Regions from separate parts of the Homo sapiens genome. Here regions 1, 2, 3 and 5 are each linked to region 4. Evidence: promoter capture Hi-C in 16 types of primary human blood cells and fetal thymus (Javierre and others, 2016). All regions are on one chromosome and are shown on one strand. Each heading gives the region's core, a stretch centred on a gene start or on the middle of the fragment in contact. The rest is flanking DNA. Distances are from core to core; before and after follow the strand shown.

Region 1 (3,795 bases), core at 392-2,891, 260 kb after region 4:
ATGATGGCAAACACAGTCGTAAATATTTTAACTTCATAATGTAAACAAGTAATGGCAAAAATGTTCACTTGGCTGGACATGGTGGCTAATGCCTGTAATCCCAGCACTTTGGGAGTCTGAGGCAGGTGGATCACCTGAGGTCCGGAGTTCAAGACCAGCCTGGCCAACATGGTGAAACCCTATCTGTACTAAAAACACAAAAATTAGCCGTGTGTGATGGCACGTGCATGTAGTCCCAGCTACTTGGGAGGCTGAAGTGGGAGAATCACTTGAACCAGGAGGTGGAGGCTGCAGTGAGCCAAGATTGCACCACTGCACTCCAGCCTGGGGGACAGAGTGAGACTTTATCTCAAAAAAAAAAAGAGAAAAGAAAAAAAAAAGTTCAGTTGATGCAGCATTGCACAGTGGAAGAGTATCAGACAGCGTGGATTTGCTCTGAGATTACAATCTGCATATGAGACGTAATAAAATCTACCTGTAAGTTAGGGATGGATATATCCCATTTTATCCTCTTCCATCCTTTGAGATATTGTCATCATATTTTACTGCTATGATATAAACCCCATCATACAGTTATATTCTTACTTTAAATAAAGGAAAAAATAGGAGAAAAAGCTGTTACATTTACCCACATGGGAACCTTATCCACTGCTCTTCATTCCTTCATGCAAATCTATGCTTTCACCTGGGACAATTTTCCCTCAGCCTGGAGACATTCTTTTAATTTATTGAAGCTTAGTTCTGTTGGAGATCAATTCTATCAGATTTTGTTTTTCTGAGTCTTTATTTAACCATTTTTGAAGGATATTTTTCCTGGATTTGAATTCTAGGTAGACACCTCTTTTCTTTCATCACGTTAAGGATTGTTGCATGTCTTCAGCCTTCATTGTTTCTGATGAGAAGTTTTCATTCTTACCCATTTTTTGGTATATAACACGCCCTTTTTCTCTGGCCACTTTTAAGTTTTTTTTTTTTTTTTTTTTTACTTTATTTTCAGCCATTTGCATGATGTGCCTAGTGCAGTTAATTTTTCCAGTATATTGTATATGTTTTTCTGTACTGGTCTCACTTGCTTCTCTTTCTAGGACTCCAATTACATGTCTGTTAACTGCTTAATACTGTCCCAAATGTTATTGTGGCTTCCTCCCACACCCCCAGTAATTTTTCTCTCCGTGCTTCAGATTGAATGATTTGACTTGTCTTCAAGTTCATGAATTATTTCTTCTTTTGTATTCAATCTGCTGTTAATCCCATTCAATAACTTTAATTTTAGATGTAGTATTTTTCAGTTCTAACATTTCTCCTTGGTTCTTCTTCATGGTTTTCATATCTGCACTGAAATGTCCCATTTCTTCACCAATTATAACATTTTTTGCTGTAGGTTTATACTATTTTATAGATACTATAAATTTATACTGTAGGTGCTATAAGTTTAGCAAATTTAGCTACCTTGAAGTGTTTGCTAGTTTCAACATTGGGGGCATCAGTATGTCTGTTTCCCCCAAAGAGTATATCTGTTTTTATTGACCGATTTATTTTTTTATTGACTGTGGTTTACATTTTCATGTTTCTTTCCCTGTCTACTAATATTTTATTGTATGATAATACATGTTAGGGACTCTGAATTCTATCACCTTCCTCTAAAGAGTGTTGAGTTTTGTTCTATAAGGCAGTTAAGTTATGACAGAGCATCTTATACTTAAAGGGGCTTGATTGTAGGCTTTGTCAGGGTGGATCTATTCAGCTTGATCCTTAGTTTTAGGGCAAATCCCTTAGTCCTGGAAGTGGTCCCTAAATCTAAGGTGTGGGCTTTTTGAAGTTTAATGGAAACCGTGAAGTGTTTGCCACATCACTCTATTCTTGCAAGACTTGAACTTTGAACTCAGGAGACCTTTGGGTGGTCAGCTGCTGAAATACCCACTCGGGACTTTCAGATTTCTAGCTCTTTGCCCTAGAATCATGGGGGTTTTTGCCTTGCTTGCAGCCAAAGATCTGAGGGGATTTTATACACAGATTTTGGAGTTTCTATGATTGCTCCTTTTAGGGATTTCCCATCTTGACTTCTAACCACTCTGACAGCCCAAACTCCATTCTCTGACTCCTCAGATAGGTAAGACTATGACATTCTGCCTGAGTCCTACCTGCCCAGTGCCATGGACAGGGGAGTGCACTCAGGTAAAGTTGTATAAACATGCATATCTCCTTTACAGCATTGAATCCCTTACAGTTGCTATCACGGAAAGTAATCATTAGGTGACATCCCCCTATTTACCCTGAAGTTACTGAACCATCTTCCCTGGATTTGTGCAGGGTGTCTCCTAATTTACGAAGATTCCAATTAGATTGGGAGTATGACTTAACTCATTTAAGTCACCCAAATGCTATTTGATCATAATTTAGTGTCTTGTTAACCTAATGGCTTGAAATAAATTGACGCACTTCTGAAAATAGGGTAAAAATCCCTGATTTTTCAAGGAGGCTAATCTTCCGTAAATGCTAAGCACTATAGAATCAATTATGTTATTAATTTGCTCTTGGTTGCAAGCTACAAAGCTTGATCAGGCTAATTACAGATTATGCTCTGAGGAAAATATTTTTATATGCACTATTTTTTTCTTGCAGGCACTTTAATATGAGGTTTTAAAAAACCTTACTTAAGACAAATAAAAAAGAAAACCTTCATGTAATTACTTTACCTGCAGGCTAATTTTTAAATACTTCAACACCGTAACAATTAAATGGGCTATGTTAGCTTCAGTTGACAACATTTATTTATTTATTTATTTGCAATGAGACCTCATAATATCCACCAGGCTGGTCTCGAACTCCTGGGCTCAAGAGATCCTCTTGTCTTAGCCTCCCAAATAGCTGGGCCTACAGGTGCCAGCCATTCTGCCTAGCTAGTTGATCACTTTTAGGGAAGGCAACACCCACAAGATTTGTTGGACCTGAACTTCTTATGGTGTGTCTGATTTTAAATGAAATGAATTTTGCTAAAGTCTCACAAATGGTTAACTCTTCTGCCTTTATTACATGTTTTAAATAGTTGATTTATCTCTTAGTTTCTTGCAGCATAATTGGTATATTGCTTCTCTTGCTAACATGTCATTTTACTGTAGGTGGTTAACTGAATGTATTCTCTCTGTAAATTTCAACAAGTTGCTCATAAAATTTTCCCAGCAGAAACTTTTTGTTTCGTATTTAAAAACTGAATACACTGTCCTTTATTTAGAGAGTGTATGTTTGGAAAATCATCCTGTTTATTTGTAAATAAAGATGAACCAGCCAGTCACAAGATATAGTTTGTCTTGTTACCACTTAAAAAAATCCCTTATATTTACAAATATAATTCATTCACAAAACTACCCTTGATAGAATTAGGACTAAATTGCTTTATAATGTTTCTGGATCTCCATAATTGAGACTGAATTTCCTCAGAAAAGAAAATGAAGAATATAGAGTGACTCCTCAGGGTTGTCAAGTCAGAATCACCTTGTTCTTTGGTGGATTTAAATATGTTTTCTGATATAAAGTTTTAACAAAATGAGGAGACTATCTCTAGCAATTTGTACAGGCTAGATGACTACAGGAAATGAAACCAGGCAGGTGTAGCCTACTAGGAAGGCCTCGTTTGGCCTGAAACTTGTGGTGCCAAGAGGAGATAAGTCCTGGCCTGGTCAATAGCTCCATCCATTTAGTTTTTAATTTTTACTTTTTTTGTTCTGTATCTGAGAGTTTATTTATATCTGTCTAGATACGTTTTATATTTTCTTGTTCTTTGATTAGCTTTTCAGT
Region 2 (3,467 bases), core at 456-2,955, 270 kb after region 4:
ACACACACACACACACACAAAAAAAGCATTTTCCCCAAAGATTATTTATTAATTGGAAAATGGGGGGAAAACCTGGAGTATACGAACTTAACCAAATAATCAAAGTTAACATTAACAATAATGGGGCTAGTTGCGGTGGCTCATGCCTGTAATCCGAGCACTTTGGGAGGCCGAGGCGGGTGGATCGCCTGAGGTCAGGAGTTTGCGACCAGCCTGGCCAACATGGTGAAATCCTGTCTCTACTAAAAATACAAAAAATTAGCCGGGTGTGGTGACAGGCGCCTGTAATCCCAGCTACTTGGGAGGCGGAGGCAGGAGAATCTCTTGAACCCAGAAGGTAGAGGTTGCAGTGAGCTGAGATCACGCCATTGCACTGCAGCCTGGGCAACAAGAGCAAAACTCCATCTCCAAAAAAAAAAAAAAAAAGAATAATGGGACAAACTGATATCCTGTACTTCCTGATAGGAAGCACCGGGAAGGACACAATGCCACTTACTGTGCCACAAATGTATAACCTGGTTCTGATCACGAGGAAACATCAGACAAAGGCAAATCAAGAGACATTCTGTAAGTCAGTGTCATGAAAGATGGCTGAGGCACTGTTCAGATTGAAGAAGACTAAAGAGACCACTAAATGCAATGGATGATTTCAGGTTATATCCTAGATGAGGGAAAAAATGCGACAAAGGACAGTGTTGTGATAATTGGTGAGATTTGAATATGGCTTGTATATTGGATAATAGCATTGTATCAGTGTTAAATTTCTTAAATTTGATATTTTTATTGTGGTTGACATGGGACATGATATCTGTACCTAAATGTCAAAGGCTTTAGGAAAAAAGGATATATGCATGTATGTGTGCATTTATATGTATATGTGTATCATATGAGAGAGAAAGCAAAGGTGGCCGAAGGTTAGCATTTGGTAAATTTAGGAGTTCCTTGTGCTGTTCTTGCAGCTTTTCTGCGAATTTGGGGGAGGGAGTTTATAAATGAAAGCACTGAGCTATTAATCTGTATTCTAGGCTTTATGGTCTAATACTATTGAGTTTACTTTTTGAAATAAATAACGTTGGACTCCTAATTCTGTTGTGAAGTGATAATGTTAACAAAACTTTTTATTAGGGAAAATTTCATATACACAAGAAGAGAGAATAGTATAGTGAACCCCCATGTATCCAGGTCACATAGCTTTAATGAGCGTTGGTATTTCACCAGGCTTGTTGCATCCATCTCCACCTCCACCCCCACTTTTCTGGGAGAGGCATTTTGAAGGCAAATCCAAGACATCATGATGCTTCACTGCCCCTCTGTGCATACTTCCCTCCTCATAATCCCCAAGCTTTTATCAGACTTCAGTAGCAATTCTGCAATAATAGATGACAGCAGCCAGGCGCGGTGGCTCACGCCTGTAATCCCAGCACTTTGGGAGGCCGAGGCGGGTGGATCATGAGGTCAGGAGTTTGAGACCAGCCTGATCAACATGGTGAAACCCCATCTCTACTAAAATTACAAAAATTAGCAGGGCGTGGTGGCACTCATCTGTAATCCCAGCTACTTGGGAGGCTGAGGCAGGAGAATCGCTTGAACCTGGGAGGCGGAGGTTGCAGTGAGCCGAGATTGCTTCACCGCACTCCAGCCTGGGAGACACAGTGAGACTCTGTCTCAAAAAAAAAAAAAAAAAACAGCATTTAGATATTATTAATGTTATAGAATAGCAGAGTTCTGAGGAATGTACTGATTTGACATATATGGGCTGTGCACTTGTTTTAAGTTTGAAAAGCTGACTAAGCCTGGGTAATTATAAACAGTGTAGAAGAAAAGGTCTGTGAACCTGCTTGTTCTTGTTTTGTTTGCTAAACTGCTCCTCCTGTTTTTAAACCAAGAATTAAATTCTAGAAGAAAACATAAATATGGTTATGGTGGCAATATTCTCAACTGATTTACCCAGTTGATGTTATCTTATTGAAACATTCTAAGAGTAAATCAGCATAAATAATTTCATACTGTTTGAATAGAATTCCTATGTTTTCATTTCACCATGGCATCTTTGAATTGGTAAACCCAGTAAAGCTTTTTCTTGACCAACCTGAGTTTCTAAATGAATCTAAAATTTGGTCTATATGTTTTATAAAAGAAATGGGACAGACATCTTGGGAGGAATAAACCTTCCCTTCTCCTGAGTATAGTAGATTTGGATGACATTTGTCCTTTTAGATCACTAGGGTATTATTTAGTCATTAACTATTATTTAGCATTATGAATGATAAGATGGCTATTATGCCATTTAACAATTGTCTGTATATTAAGATGATAATCAAACTCACTGACAGTGCTTTCTAGTAGATTGGAGAGGTATCTGAAGTGCATATTACAAAAAAAATTTTATGCACAGCTGTCATCCTTCCATTAAGGATTATACATATCTGATTTTAGGTAGTTTACATTTATGGATGGATATTACCCCTTTAGAATAAAATTTTCTTATTGTGAGAATATAATATTCTTCTGGCGTCTAATTTTAGGAATATAATAAGTCACATTCTATAATTTTACTCACAATGGAGCAAAGATTAAGAGACATAAAATGATTTTACCCACCCTGCATGAAAATGCCCCTGGTTTATATACTTAATTCAAAAGAGCACCATACAGATAACCTACCAATTACAAGGAGGTTTTCAATTGGCTTAGCTCAATAGAAATTGCAAAAGATTGAAGAACTGAGTGTGGTATGGTGGAAGAGAGCACAGGCCTGGTTCCAGAGGTGCCTGAGTCGTGAACTCTGGTCCTGCCACTCAAAGGCTGGGTAAGAGGTAAATTGTTTAACTTCCCGGAGGCTTTGTCTTATTCCACTCTGAGGAATTACAAGGAGTAAAAGAGATGGAACAGAGTTGCTGGCACAACATATGCATTAATAAATGTCTGTCCCTTTACCTGCTACAAGATCCTTCCAATGGCGTGTACCTCCCCATAGGGTGTACCTCATATTATGAGAACAATCTGACTCAGAAACAGGGTGCCTAGTCATTGATTCCATTTTTTGTGTGTGAGGAATATAAAATTAAGAACAAATGATCTGTGTACAAATGTAAGACTAGGGAAGAGAATCTAGGACAAGCACCCAAAGGTGCAGAACTCAGATTTTAAATAGAAGTAATAATCATGTTTTCTTCCCCAATGTTTATTGTTTTGTGCAAGTGTACTTGTACCATGAGCATGTGGATTTGTGAAATGTGCACACACACAACTTGTAGAAACCTTGGGAGAATTCACTGATGGGCTGTGAAAAGGGCTACAACAGCTACCTCTTTGATTTAAGAGGCAAGAGGGTTTTGAGCACTTCTCCGCTGATGTGCATTTGGCGATCTCTCTGGGCTTCGTGGCCTACCCCTCTCAGGAATGACTGATGGATGGCTATAGCACTGGGCGGATATGCTTCAGGGCACCTCTTCAGAGTTTTTTTT
Region 3 (3,409 bases), core at 216-2,715, 310 kb after region 4:
CTTTCACACCCAGGATTTGCCTGTTCCAACTTCCTAGGCTTCATGAAATACCCAGGAAAAAAAATCTTCATAATTACTTGGCATAAGTCGCACCAAGGAAATTAAACAAAAAAATTAGTACGTGAACTTGTGATAGGAAACGTGTCCTTCCATAAGTTTCTTCTCAAGAATGAAAAACTAGTTTTTCAATAGAGTAGGCACTGATACAGGGGTTAAGAAGAAATCACTTAGGCAGATAGTAAGGTTATGGGAGTCCTCGGTAAGGCTTTTTAATGAAAAGCAGCCCCAAATCATTTTCTTTTTTCTTTTCTTTTCTTTTCTTTTTTTTTTTTTGAGACGGAGTCTCACTCTGTTGCCCAGGCTGGAGTGCGGCTGTGCGATCTCGGCTCACTGCAACCTCCGCCTCCTGGGTTCACGCCATTCTCCTGCCTCAGCCTCCCGAGTAGCTGGGACTACAGGCGCCCACCACTACGCCCGGCTAATTTTTTTTTTTGTATTTTTAGTAGAGACGGGGTTTCACCATGTTAGCCAGGATGGTCTTGATCTCCTGACCTCATGATTCGCCCGCCTCGGCCTCCCAAAGTGTTGGGATTACAGGCGTGAGCCACCGCGCCCGGCCAGCCCCAAATCATTTTCTAACAAAGAGCAGCCTGTAAAGTCGAGCTGCAGACGTAGACAGCCAACCTGGGAGCTTGCGCTAGTGAATGCTGGCGGGAACTAGGGACTAGACATGTTGGCTCCATCTTCCTTTAGGTGCCAGCCATGTGTACAGTAAAGAGCGACAAGATGGCGGCCAGACACGGAGAGTTCATTAGCATAATAAGATTAGGGTGGGGTGACCGGATTTGGGCGTGCTATGTAAACTTCACATTTGATTAAACCAATCTGTGAGCCCTACCTACCTAAATCAGACACCACCTCCTCAAGCTTTACTATACAATCCGGCACATCCACAGCCAGCCCATCTTTTCCGCTCGGAAAACCCCTCTCTCTCTCGACAGAGAGAGCTGTTTCTCTTCTTCTGCCTATTAAACCTTTACTCCTAAAGGTTTAGGACACAGACACAAACTCCTTGTGTCTGTGTCCTAAATTTTCCAATGCCAAATGGTGAGCCCCTGGATATATACCCCAGACAATGTAGCCTCCTCAGCACTGGAAAACCAAATTAAGTCACCTGAGATTCCTAGCTCAAGTGCTCACAGGAAGATGAAGGCATCTGGGAAGTGTGGGGAGGACATTGGCACACTTGGGGCTCCAAGCGAACTATATTATAATAAGCAGCAACACATTGACTCCCTAAAGACTAACATAAATCCATTTGAAGGCATCTTAAGGTTCTAAGGTTGAAATAATTTTATAATTCTTTGTTTGGAAAAGTACATTCAAAAGAAAACAAAAAGATGTGGATAAGGTCGGGGACATATAAAACAAGTCCCTAAATAGATGACAGACCTTGTCCATATACCCACATACAGTTGCCACAGAAATAAACAGTACCCTTCTCCTCAATTAGGCTCAATAGTTGTCTTTTCCACTGTGGTTCAGTACGTTTTAATGGTTCCACCTTGAAATAGGTAACAATCTTTGGAAAAAGTCACTCTAGGTTGCACAAAGGTTTTATGTTTACAGTTTGGTACAAGTAACAAAGCTACTTTGAAAGAACTGCTTCTTTCCAAACAACAACAACAACAACAACAAACCATTCTAGCCTGTATTTGTTTGGGTGTGATTTATTTTTAGTTTTCATTTTTTGCAAAGCAGCACAGAAGCAATTATAGGAGTGTAGTAATAACCTTTGTAAACATCATTTGCATATCAGTAAGAACTGATTGTCTTTCATTCCTTTTTAGTGAAAGAGGAAGCAAGATGATCAACTCAGAGTGAATAAGGTGGGGAGGTGCTGGCAATTTGAGATTTGTCATCTAGGACTGCAGTGCACAAAGTGGCCAGTTGGGGAGCCCTTGGTTACTGACTTGCCAGGAGATGAGTACAGAAAGTGAGAGCAAGCTTTTAGAAACTGTTATAGCACTTGACATTGCTGTAACATTTTTATTGTATTTTTAAAAAGTATTGGTCTATAATAGATTGGAAATAAAAACATCTAGTCCTCACAGCAGATAGTTTAAGAGGCACTGGGCCAAGAGAATGGGAGAAAATGGAGTAGGGAAAAGTAGAAAGATTGCTGCACTACATTGAGGATCCACCTGAGGCTTGAGGCCATGAATTTCATGTGAGGCCATTCGATTCAAGAGTGTTTTTCTCCAGCCTTGTTTAGCTATGTTGATACAGGCAGTGTTGGATTTTACCAGGGTGTGGTTTTGCTAAGTGGGCCTAATGCAGTGGGAAGATGCAAGTGTTGAGGAAGTATTCAAGTGAGGTGTACGGAGACTGACCATGGCATTTTAAGCTGGGGGAAGAAGAAAGCAATCGGAGGAGGGTGAGAGGCAGTGACGAAAGTGGTAGGATGGATGGAATCTAGGACCAGGAAGAATCAAGTTGGCTGGAGTTGGAATGTAGGACCAGCAAGGAGTGAACTAGAAGTATGGAAGGTGGTGATCAGAGAGTGGGATTTCTGATAATGAGATTCATCACAATACTGCTCACCAACTGGGAGGGAATCTGAATTAATTATTTTGTATATATCCAGTGGACTATTTTGTAGCCATTAGAGCTCATGTTGTCATTCTATTTCTTTATGGGCACAGAAATGTTCAGGATATCTTAAGTGAAAAAAGCTTACCAATTTGCAAAATTAAGTGGCAAAATTTACTAATTTTTTTTGGTAAAAATATAAACATTTTAATGCACAGAAGTCTTAACTGTGGTAGTATCTGGATGGTTGAATCACAGATGCCTTTTACTTTCTTTCGGATAATCTCCTTTTTGTTTTCGAGACAGGGTCTCCCTCTGTTGCCCAGGCTGGAGTGCAGTGCAAACATGACTCACTACAGCCTTGATCTCTTGGGCTCAGGCTCTTGCTTCAGCCCCCCACGTAGCTGGGACCACAGGCACGTGCCACCATGCCTGGCTTATTTTTATATTTTTTGTAGAAAGGGGGTTTTGGCATGTTGCCCAGGCTGGTCTCGAATTCCTGGGCTCAAGCAATCTGCCCACATTGGCCTCCCAACGTGCTGGGATTACAGGTATGGGCCACCATGCCCAGCCTGTTTGATAGAATTCTTACATAGGCATATTTTAGAGATACTGGGGATTCAGTTCCAGCCTATTGCAATAAAGCAAGTATCTCAATAAAGTGAGTCACACAAATGTTTTGGTTTCCTAGTGCATATAAAAGTTACGTTTACACCATGCTATAGTTTATTAAGTATACAATAGCATCATATCCAAAAAAATACCTACCTTAATGAAATATACTTTATTGCTAAAAAAATACTGGCACAGAGTCACA
Region 4 (3,335 bases), core at 8-2,507:
GGGCATCTGGTGCCCCATGAAAAGCAGAAGCCCCTGCTCAACTCCAGGCCGTTTCTATGAGAGGAGTGCAGGCCCAGTGTTCCCGAGTATCTCATTTTCCACGAGAAGTTGGAAAACCTGACTTTTCATGTGATGTGACATTTCCTAGCGTTTAAATATTTGAGAAGTAATTAAAATTATTTCAAAACACACTAGGTAGGCCAAATAAAATGTGTCTGAGACCTAGGGCTGGTATCAGTTCTAGTCTGTCTCTGTCACTTTCCACAATCTAACCTGCCCTCCCAGCTTCAGTGGTTACTCAAATTTCAATGTCTCTGAGCGTTAGATGGCCAGCCCTGGCCTGCACCCCAGATTTACCCTAGAATTCATCTGCATGTGGGTGCCCACACACCTCCAATGCAAAGCGGAGCCCATCAGCCTCCCAGATTTGGCAGACTGTAGGATCTCAGTAAGTGTGAGCTATTTTTGTCTTTGTTCCACTAACAAAAATACTACTACTACTAACACTGCTACTAATACTCATGCTACAAAGAATAATCTCTTGCCCCTCTTTTGTTCCATTTCTGTTACTCAACACCACTGCCCCATCAGGCAGCCAGGGAGGACCCTGTGATCTTGGACTCTTCACTCCCATTCCCGGCAGTTAGTGGATTGTGTTTATTCTTCCACGGCCCTCTAGAATGTGCTTCCAACTCTTCCTTCCAATTAACTAGAAACTCTCCTAGTTGCTGAACTTGTCATGTGTTCTCAGCTATTGTCTCAGCCTCTAACTGCTCACCACCAGGCGCTACCTCTGCATTTAAGATTTATTCATCACGCTGTGGCTAGTGTCATCCCCTAAATTGCCGTGCAGCTCTCATCACTCACCTCGGATGGATCCCACCGGCTGCCCCCGCAGTTCCTCAGCCATCCCTGCATGCCAGCTGTACCAGGCACTTGTATGCCTCTGCATTTGTGCTGGCTGTGTCCTCAGGCGCATTTTCTTCCTTCATGCCTACTATGTTAATTCTGTTCGTCCTCATCTCTGGTCAAATGCCACCTCTTCCACGAGGCTGTCACTTGCCTTCCCACCACCAGCCCCAGTGTTATTTGCCCCGTGCCTCTTCCAAGCTCTCACAGCACTTGATCTAAGTCTCTTTTCATTTCATCCGGCTGTGTATTATGAAGTTTGCTTGATTCTTCCCCCTTCTCTTGATTAGCTCCTGGATGAAGAGACACTGTCTTTGTCATCTGCGTATCCCCAAGAAACCCCTAGTGTGCTGCCTTACATGTAGTAGACACCTTGAAAACCTTTGTCAATTGAATCAAAGTTTGTTTGTGTGTGTGTGTGTTTTGTTTTTTCTTTTGGTTTGTTTTTTTTGTAAGTTGAGGATGGCTGCATCTAAAGGGCTCAGGCCAAGGTATTAAAAACAAAACTGCTTGGTTATTCAAAAGGATTTATCAGAACCCCAAGAGGCTAAGTATCAAGCTAGTGAAAGGGTTATTCTGCCTGTCCCCAATTCCAAGGGTGCAGTTTTTAGAGGACGGACGGTCGTGTTTGGTCTACTTGTCGTCAGGCAAGGCCTCTTCCACAGTGCCCCATGGAAGCTTGGGTTCAGTGCCAGGGGCAGGGAGGAATGGGCAAGCCTCTTGGACACTGGGGCTTCAGCCACCCTGGCATATAGAGTCCTGCACTGTTTGTCTTGCCCAGAAGAACAGGCTGTACCCACCCATTCACAAGATGTCCTCTCTCACATCATTGGCAGGCCTGGGAATTTCCCACAGGCCATCTGGGTGTGTTCTGCCGTCCTGTCTCCCAAGTTTTTTGCAGCATTGTTTCTTGTTAATTAGCTCTTAGAATAGCAACTGCTCTTCCATCAGGAATTGTATCCCGTTGACTTTCCTAAGGCAAGAATCTACTCATTTCTTTTTTGTAAGCATTTTCTCCCTTCCTGCCTGCATTGCACAGGCTTACTTAGTGAGAGCCCAAGCAGTGTGAACTAACTCCTAGCTCTTACAGAACTGAGTTACTTATAATATGCATCTCCTGAATCCTGGGTGACCACTGTAAGTGCCTGAAGTGGCAGCTGCTCTGACTGGGCCTGTGCAGCTCTGAATGCTGCATTTACTTTTGGGTCCTGCCTCCAACCCAGAACCACCTGTGGCCTTTAATTCCTGTTACTAGGAGAGAGGAGAAGCGATTAAACCCTGTCAGTATATTCATTTATTAGCTGCCCTTTGAAGCTTTTTTGAAAGCATTTTACAAGGTATATCCCGTCAGGTTGCTTAGGAACTTTTGCAGCCTCCTTCTTCAACATTATCATTTTCATTTGAATCAACACTGGCAGCTTGACACCTCTGGACACCTGGCATGGCAGTGGGAGGTACCTCCAAACACTGTCTTTCCGTGTCTGCACCTTCAACAAGATTTTCTCTGTAAATTCAGCTCCAAAACAATTTTTATAAACACAGCATTACTTTTGTGTTGTTCACAAATCAGATTTGGAAAGAGGTGCTTGGGGACTGTCATGAGTCTATTTAAAGATAACCTGATTTAAATAAAAACAAAAACAAAACTTTTTATCCAAGGCAATTTTCTTTCAATATGGGAAATTAAATTAGCTTCAGTGTCTTTGAAATTGAGAACCACACTCCGGCCATGAAAAGTGAATTATCCTGTACTAATCCTTGCTCAGGAAGTGATCAAAACACCTTTCCTGGCTATTTTGTGAAAGCAGATTTAGCCCAGCATATTTTGATAGGAGCCCAGCACTAAGGAAGTTTCCCAACTGATGGAAATACAGAGAATCTCTATGCACACATCGCTTAGCTGTGTGGCAGCGCTCGTTTTAGTTTTTGGTCTATGGAGCAATGGAATCTCAGTCATTGAACCTACTTCGAAACAGCAGTGGTGGGGGGAACATCTTGAAGAAAAGCCTTTCATCTAGAGCTATGATATCTTCGCTGCATAAAGAAAAGTGGCCAACTTTGTTTTTTCTAGAGCCAGGACACAGACCTTTTCAGTATGTCACCTTTGCTGCTTCTTCACACAGATCTTCAAAAATAACGACTCTCTCTCCTCTCTGTGGTCTCGTCAGAGAGCAGGAATCCTGGCCAGCTGGTCAGGTCACTCAGAAAAATGGCACAGCTGTTTCTGAAAGTAGCCCCATTCATAAGATGTCTGCTGCCCACAACTGCAGTGTTGGGGAAAGGCACACTGTTATAAAGAGCTTCTTTTCTTTAAAGAGGAAAGAAAAATACATGGTGTTTACAGAAAAGAAAACTGGACCCTCCTGCTTTCTTTTAGTGGCCATGTCTGAAATGGAAGTGGGAAAAGCCATAAATCCACACAGGCA
Region 5 (3,697 bases), core at 445-2,944, 280 kb before region 4:
CACAGCTAGGAAGGGGCAGAGGCAAGATTCAAAGCTGAATCTCTTAACCAATATACTACACTGCCTTCTCAATTCTATTGCCAATTATCTATAGCCATATCTCTATCTATACCTATTTGTATCCATATCCATTGCTGTACATATTTATATATAAGCATAAATGTCTCCAGGTAGTGGAATACAAAATAATCAGCCAAGTTCATCTAATAATTTATGGGTTGTTATACCCCGATAGAGAAATACAAACACAAGCCCATAACTTCAAGGGTCAAGTCCTCTAAAATTTAGAATATACGAGCAGGTAATGTCTAAGGAAAAGCATCTGAAGTCAGAGTATTGTGTGTGTGTGTGTGTGTGTGTGTGTGTGTGTGTGTGTGTGTGTGTGTATGTGTGTGTACGCACGTGCATGTGCAGTTTCTGGAAAGTGTCTAAGAACAACATCCTTATTTTATTTAATCTCATATGCCAAAAGGGCAAATACATGGGCATTGTTTAACTGAGTCCTTGCTCTGCACCTTATAACTGTATACCAGAGGCCGTGGAAACTGGATCGCCCTCTCAGGATGCCATTATAGCCAAGCAGAATCTCATTAAAAATCAATTCCTCGGGTCCATAAAGCCAGTTTATTTTATCTTCCTGGAGTGCCTGCTGCTAGCAGTTACACAGTTTCATTGTGTGGCAGTCTTGTCTGTTAAGAACATTGCACAAAACGGCTATTTAAAGATTTTCCATTTTTATGTTAAACTTTATAATTTTACAGTAGTTTAAGTTTACAGGGTTTGCTTTTCAAGCTTAGGGTATCTTGTTACATGGGTTGGAAGTAGCATTGCCAGTCCTAAGGTTCCACTAATTAAATATTTGCCTTTATAAACTAGATGTTGTCCAATGTGAGTGTGCAGATTTAATTGGGCAGCAGAGCTCCAGATCTAAGAAAGCCTGATTTGGCCACTTTCAGCAATTTCTCATTCACTGCTGCTTTTTGATTGTTGAATTGTGCCTAGGGCCTTCACTAGTAGTAACACAAAAATCAGCTAGGGAATTTGCTCTTTGTAGTAATCCTAATTCAACTCTCTCTAAATATCTTACAAATCAATATTAGCCAAATTTTATAAATGGGGAGTTGAAAGCACATAGAGATTTAGTGACCTGTACAGGTCACCCTGAATGAGCAACACAGGCAGAAGAAATTGGAGAGGCTACTCTGGCCCCATCTGGAATCTTTTAACTCTTTTGACCCCCTTCAGTGGGCTTCAGGGCTCGCTGATTTCAAAGATCAGTGACCTTTTTGGGATAGTGCTTGGCAGTGAAACAGAGAGGCTTGAATTCCTTAGATTTTGGCTACTGTGGTCCATGACGCAGTTTGAGTTTGTTTTTTAGAAGAGTCCGTGCTGTTAGTGAGGAGAGTAAGGAGGGATGGGGAATGGTGTGTTGGGCTGGGATTGAAGTAGGAAGATGTTTAAGATCACTAGAGCCACCCAGTGTTCCTTCCCTACCACGTGTTGAGGACTAGCATAAGCATGTCATTACAATTTTTTTTAAAGGTTAGAAGTTGACATTGGAAGGAACCAAATCCAAAACAATCCTCAACATAACCTTTTTCAAATTCTCAGTGGAAAATAACAGGGTTATCCTCTGTTATGAACCCTTGCAATTTTGACAATTGCATTTCTCCTCAAGAAACCATCCCAGGCGGGTGCGGTGGCTCATGTCTGTAATCCCAGCACTTTGGGAAGCCAAGGTGGGTGGATTGCTGGAACCCAGGAGTTCAAGACCAGCTTGGGCAACATACTGAAACCCTGTCTCTACAAAAAATACAAAAATTAGCAGGGCATGGAGGTGAGCAGCTGTAGTCCCAGTTACTTGGGAGGCTGTGGTGGGAGGATAGCTTGAGCCTGGGATGCGGAAGCTGCAGTGAGCCAAGATCGTGCCGTTGCACTCCAGCCTGCGTGACAGAGCATAACCTTGTCTCAAAAAACAAAAACAAAAACCCTCACTTTACAGAGGAGACACAGAACATTAAATAACTTTTCCAGGTCACATACTTAGGTATTGGCAGAAAATGGACCATCACCCAGGATCACCACCTCCCAAGCCAGTGCTTCTCTCTGTCACCCCTCTGCCACTAAGAGCACCTTTCATAAGCCCTACACCAAATCATCTTTGAATTTAGAGTCATTTTAGTCTGGGCTTGAAAACATAAAACTGCAATATTGCTACATTAGTGTACAGTGCTAATGTTTGCTTAGGGTGAGACTGGGCTAGGAGAATAAGATCTAGGGAGAGCTCCAAATAAGAGCCCCCAGCTGGGTGCAGTGGCTCATACCTGCAATCCCAGCACTCTGGAAGGATGAGGTAGGAGGATCACTAGAGGTGAGGAGTTCGAGACCAGTCTGGCCAACATAGCAAAACCCCATCTCTACTAAAAATAAAAAAATTAGCCAAGCGTGGTGGCATGCGCCTGTAATCCTAGCTACTCGGGAGGCTAAGGCAGGAGAATCACTTGAACCTGGGAGGCAGAAGTTGCAGTGAGCTGAGATCACCCCCAAGAATGTGAAAAGGGATTCTTTAAGAGGGAGAAAGAGTTTTAAAGACTACTGAAGCTTTTAGAAAAATCATAGGTCCTTGGCTGGACATGGTGGCTCATGCCTGTAATCTCAGCACTTTGGGAGGCTGAGGTGGGTGGATCACTTGAGGTCAGGGGTTCGACACTAGCCTGGCAGGCATGGTGAAACCCCGACTCTACTAAAAATACAAAAATTAGCTGGGTGTGATGGCATGCACCTGTAATTCCAGCTACTCGGGAGGCTGAGGTAGGAGAATCACTTGAACCTGGGAGGCAGAGGTTGCAGTGAGCTGAGATTGTGCCACTGAACTCCAGCCTGGGCAACAGAGCGAGACTCCATCTCCAAAAATAAATAAATAAATAAATACATAAATAAAAATTATAGGTCCAGAAAGTATGTAGTGATAAATAGCCCCTGAAGCTGCATAATAAGACCATTTTTAAAAGCAAGGAACTTCTGGGAGTGCATAAAAAGTAAAATGCATTGCAGGGAAACATAGGAAAATCATTCATGAGCCTCCGAATCAGTGGCTTGACTCAGCACTGAAACATGGATCTTGAGCAAAGACAGATGGAAACTTGTTTTACGAAGGACCAGGAGAGGAATTGTCTCACGAGAATATGTAACTAGAAATGGCTTTATATGCCTGGTTCATCTATATGCTGCTAATGCACTTATTTGTGTATATTTTATGCTAATAGAGGCCCTAAAACTGATATAAGAATCTGTGTATGCTAAAAAAAATTCTGATTCCCCGAGCTTTGCTGAAACGGCGCCTAGGGAGGGAGATGAGGTGATGGGGATGGGTGATGGGAAACAAGAAACACAGTTTTTGAAGGAAAAGCAAAAACTTCATTCCTTGGGTGGGATGGTAGAGGGTGGGGTTGAAGGGAGTCTTCAACCACGCCAAGTCTAAATAGACTGGGAGGCTTTTATTTGGAACTCTCCTTTGGCAACGTTTTATCACAGCATGTTTTCCATTCTTGGCGGAGAAAAGGACCTGGAGGCTATAGAACTGGCTCAGTCTTCACTCTGACAATACGTTCACAATAATGGAAGACATCTTTTCCCTATAACTTTGAAAAACATGAAAGCAGATATTGGCTCTGAGTATGTCTGATAGTCTAACTTT

The links. Contacts are between HindIII fragments. The CHiCAGO score rates a contact against its expected background, and 5 or more counts as called.
Region 1: a fragment that was not itself captured here is called in contact with the fragment with the promoter of PRKCH-AS2 in region 4 in 12 of 17 cell types (neutrophils, activated CD4 T cells, naive CD8 T cells and 9 more); the score reaches 21.3 in neutrophils.
Region 2: a contact is called between a fragment that was not itself captured here and the fragment with the promoter of PRKCH-AS2 in region 4, in 9 of 17 cell types (neutrophils, activated CD4 T cells, total CD8 T cells and 6 more). The highest score is 13.0, in neutrophils.
Region 3: a contact is called between a fragment that was not itself captured here and the fragment with the promoter of PRKCH-AS2 in region 4, in 6 of 17 cell types (activated CD4 T cells, total B cells, total CD4 T cells and 3 more). The highest score is 9.7, in activated CD4 T cells.
Region 5: a contact is called between a fragment that was not itself captured here and the fragment with the promoter of PRKCH-AS2 in region 4, in 6 of 17 cell types (total CD8 T cells, naive CD8 T cells, non-activated CD4 T cells and 3 more). The highest score is 8.2, in total CD8 T cells.

Annotation. Positions count from the first base shown.
Region 1 is chr14:61,800,344-61,804,138 of GRCh38, forward strand. No RefSeq gene overlaps it. Among named protein-coding and RNA genes, the nearest start is that of SYT16, 10 kb to the right of the region's middle. The HindIII fragment of the contact is 1,819 bases long and covers 733-2,551 here.
Region 2 is chr14:61,817,011-61,820,477 of GRCh38, forward strand. All of the region lies in intron 1 of SYT16 (synaptotagmin 16), which reads left to right. Among named protein-coding and RNA genes, the nearest start is that of SYT16, 6.0 kb to the left of the region's middle. The HindIII fragment of the contact is 731 bases long and covers 1,341-2,071 here.
Region 3 is chr14:61,858,540-61,861,948 of GRCh38, forward strand. The region is part of intron 1 of SYT16 (synaptotagmin 16); the gene reads left to right. Among named protein-coding and RNA genes, the nearest start is that of SYT16, 48 kb to the left of the region's middle. The HindIII fragment of the contact is 1,080 bases long and covers 926-2,005 here.
Region 4 is chr14:61,544,227-61,547,561 of GRCh38, forward strand. PRKCH-AS2 (PRKCH antisense RNA 2) reads right to left here and starts at 1,258. Exons shown (of 3, transcript NR_188139.1): 1 at 868-1,258. All of the region lies in intron 12 of PRKCH (protein kinase C eta), which reads left to right. The HindIII fragment of the contact is 1,799 bases long and covers 1-1,585 here.
Region 5 is chr14:61,263,511-61,267,207 of GRCh38, forward strand. It overlaps a transcript of PRKCH not described here. Among named protein-coding and RNA genes, the nearest start is that of TMEM30B, 16 kb to the right of the region's middle. The HindIII fragment of the contact is 1,809 bases long and covers 791-2,599 here.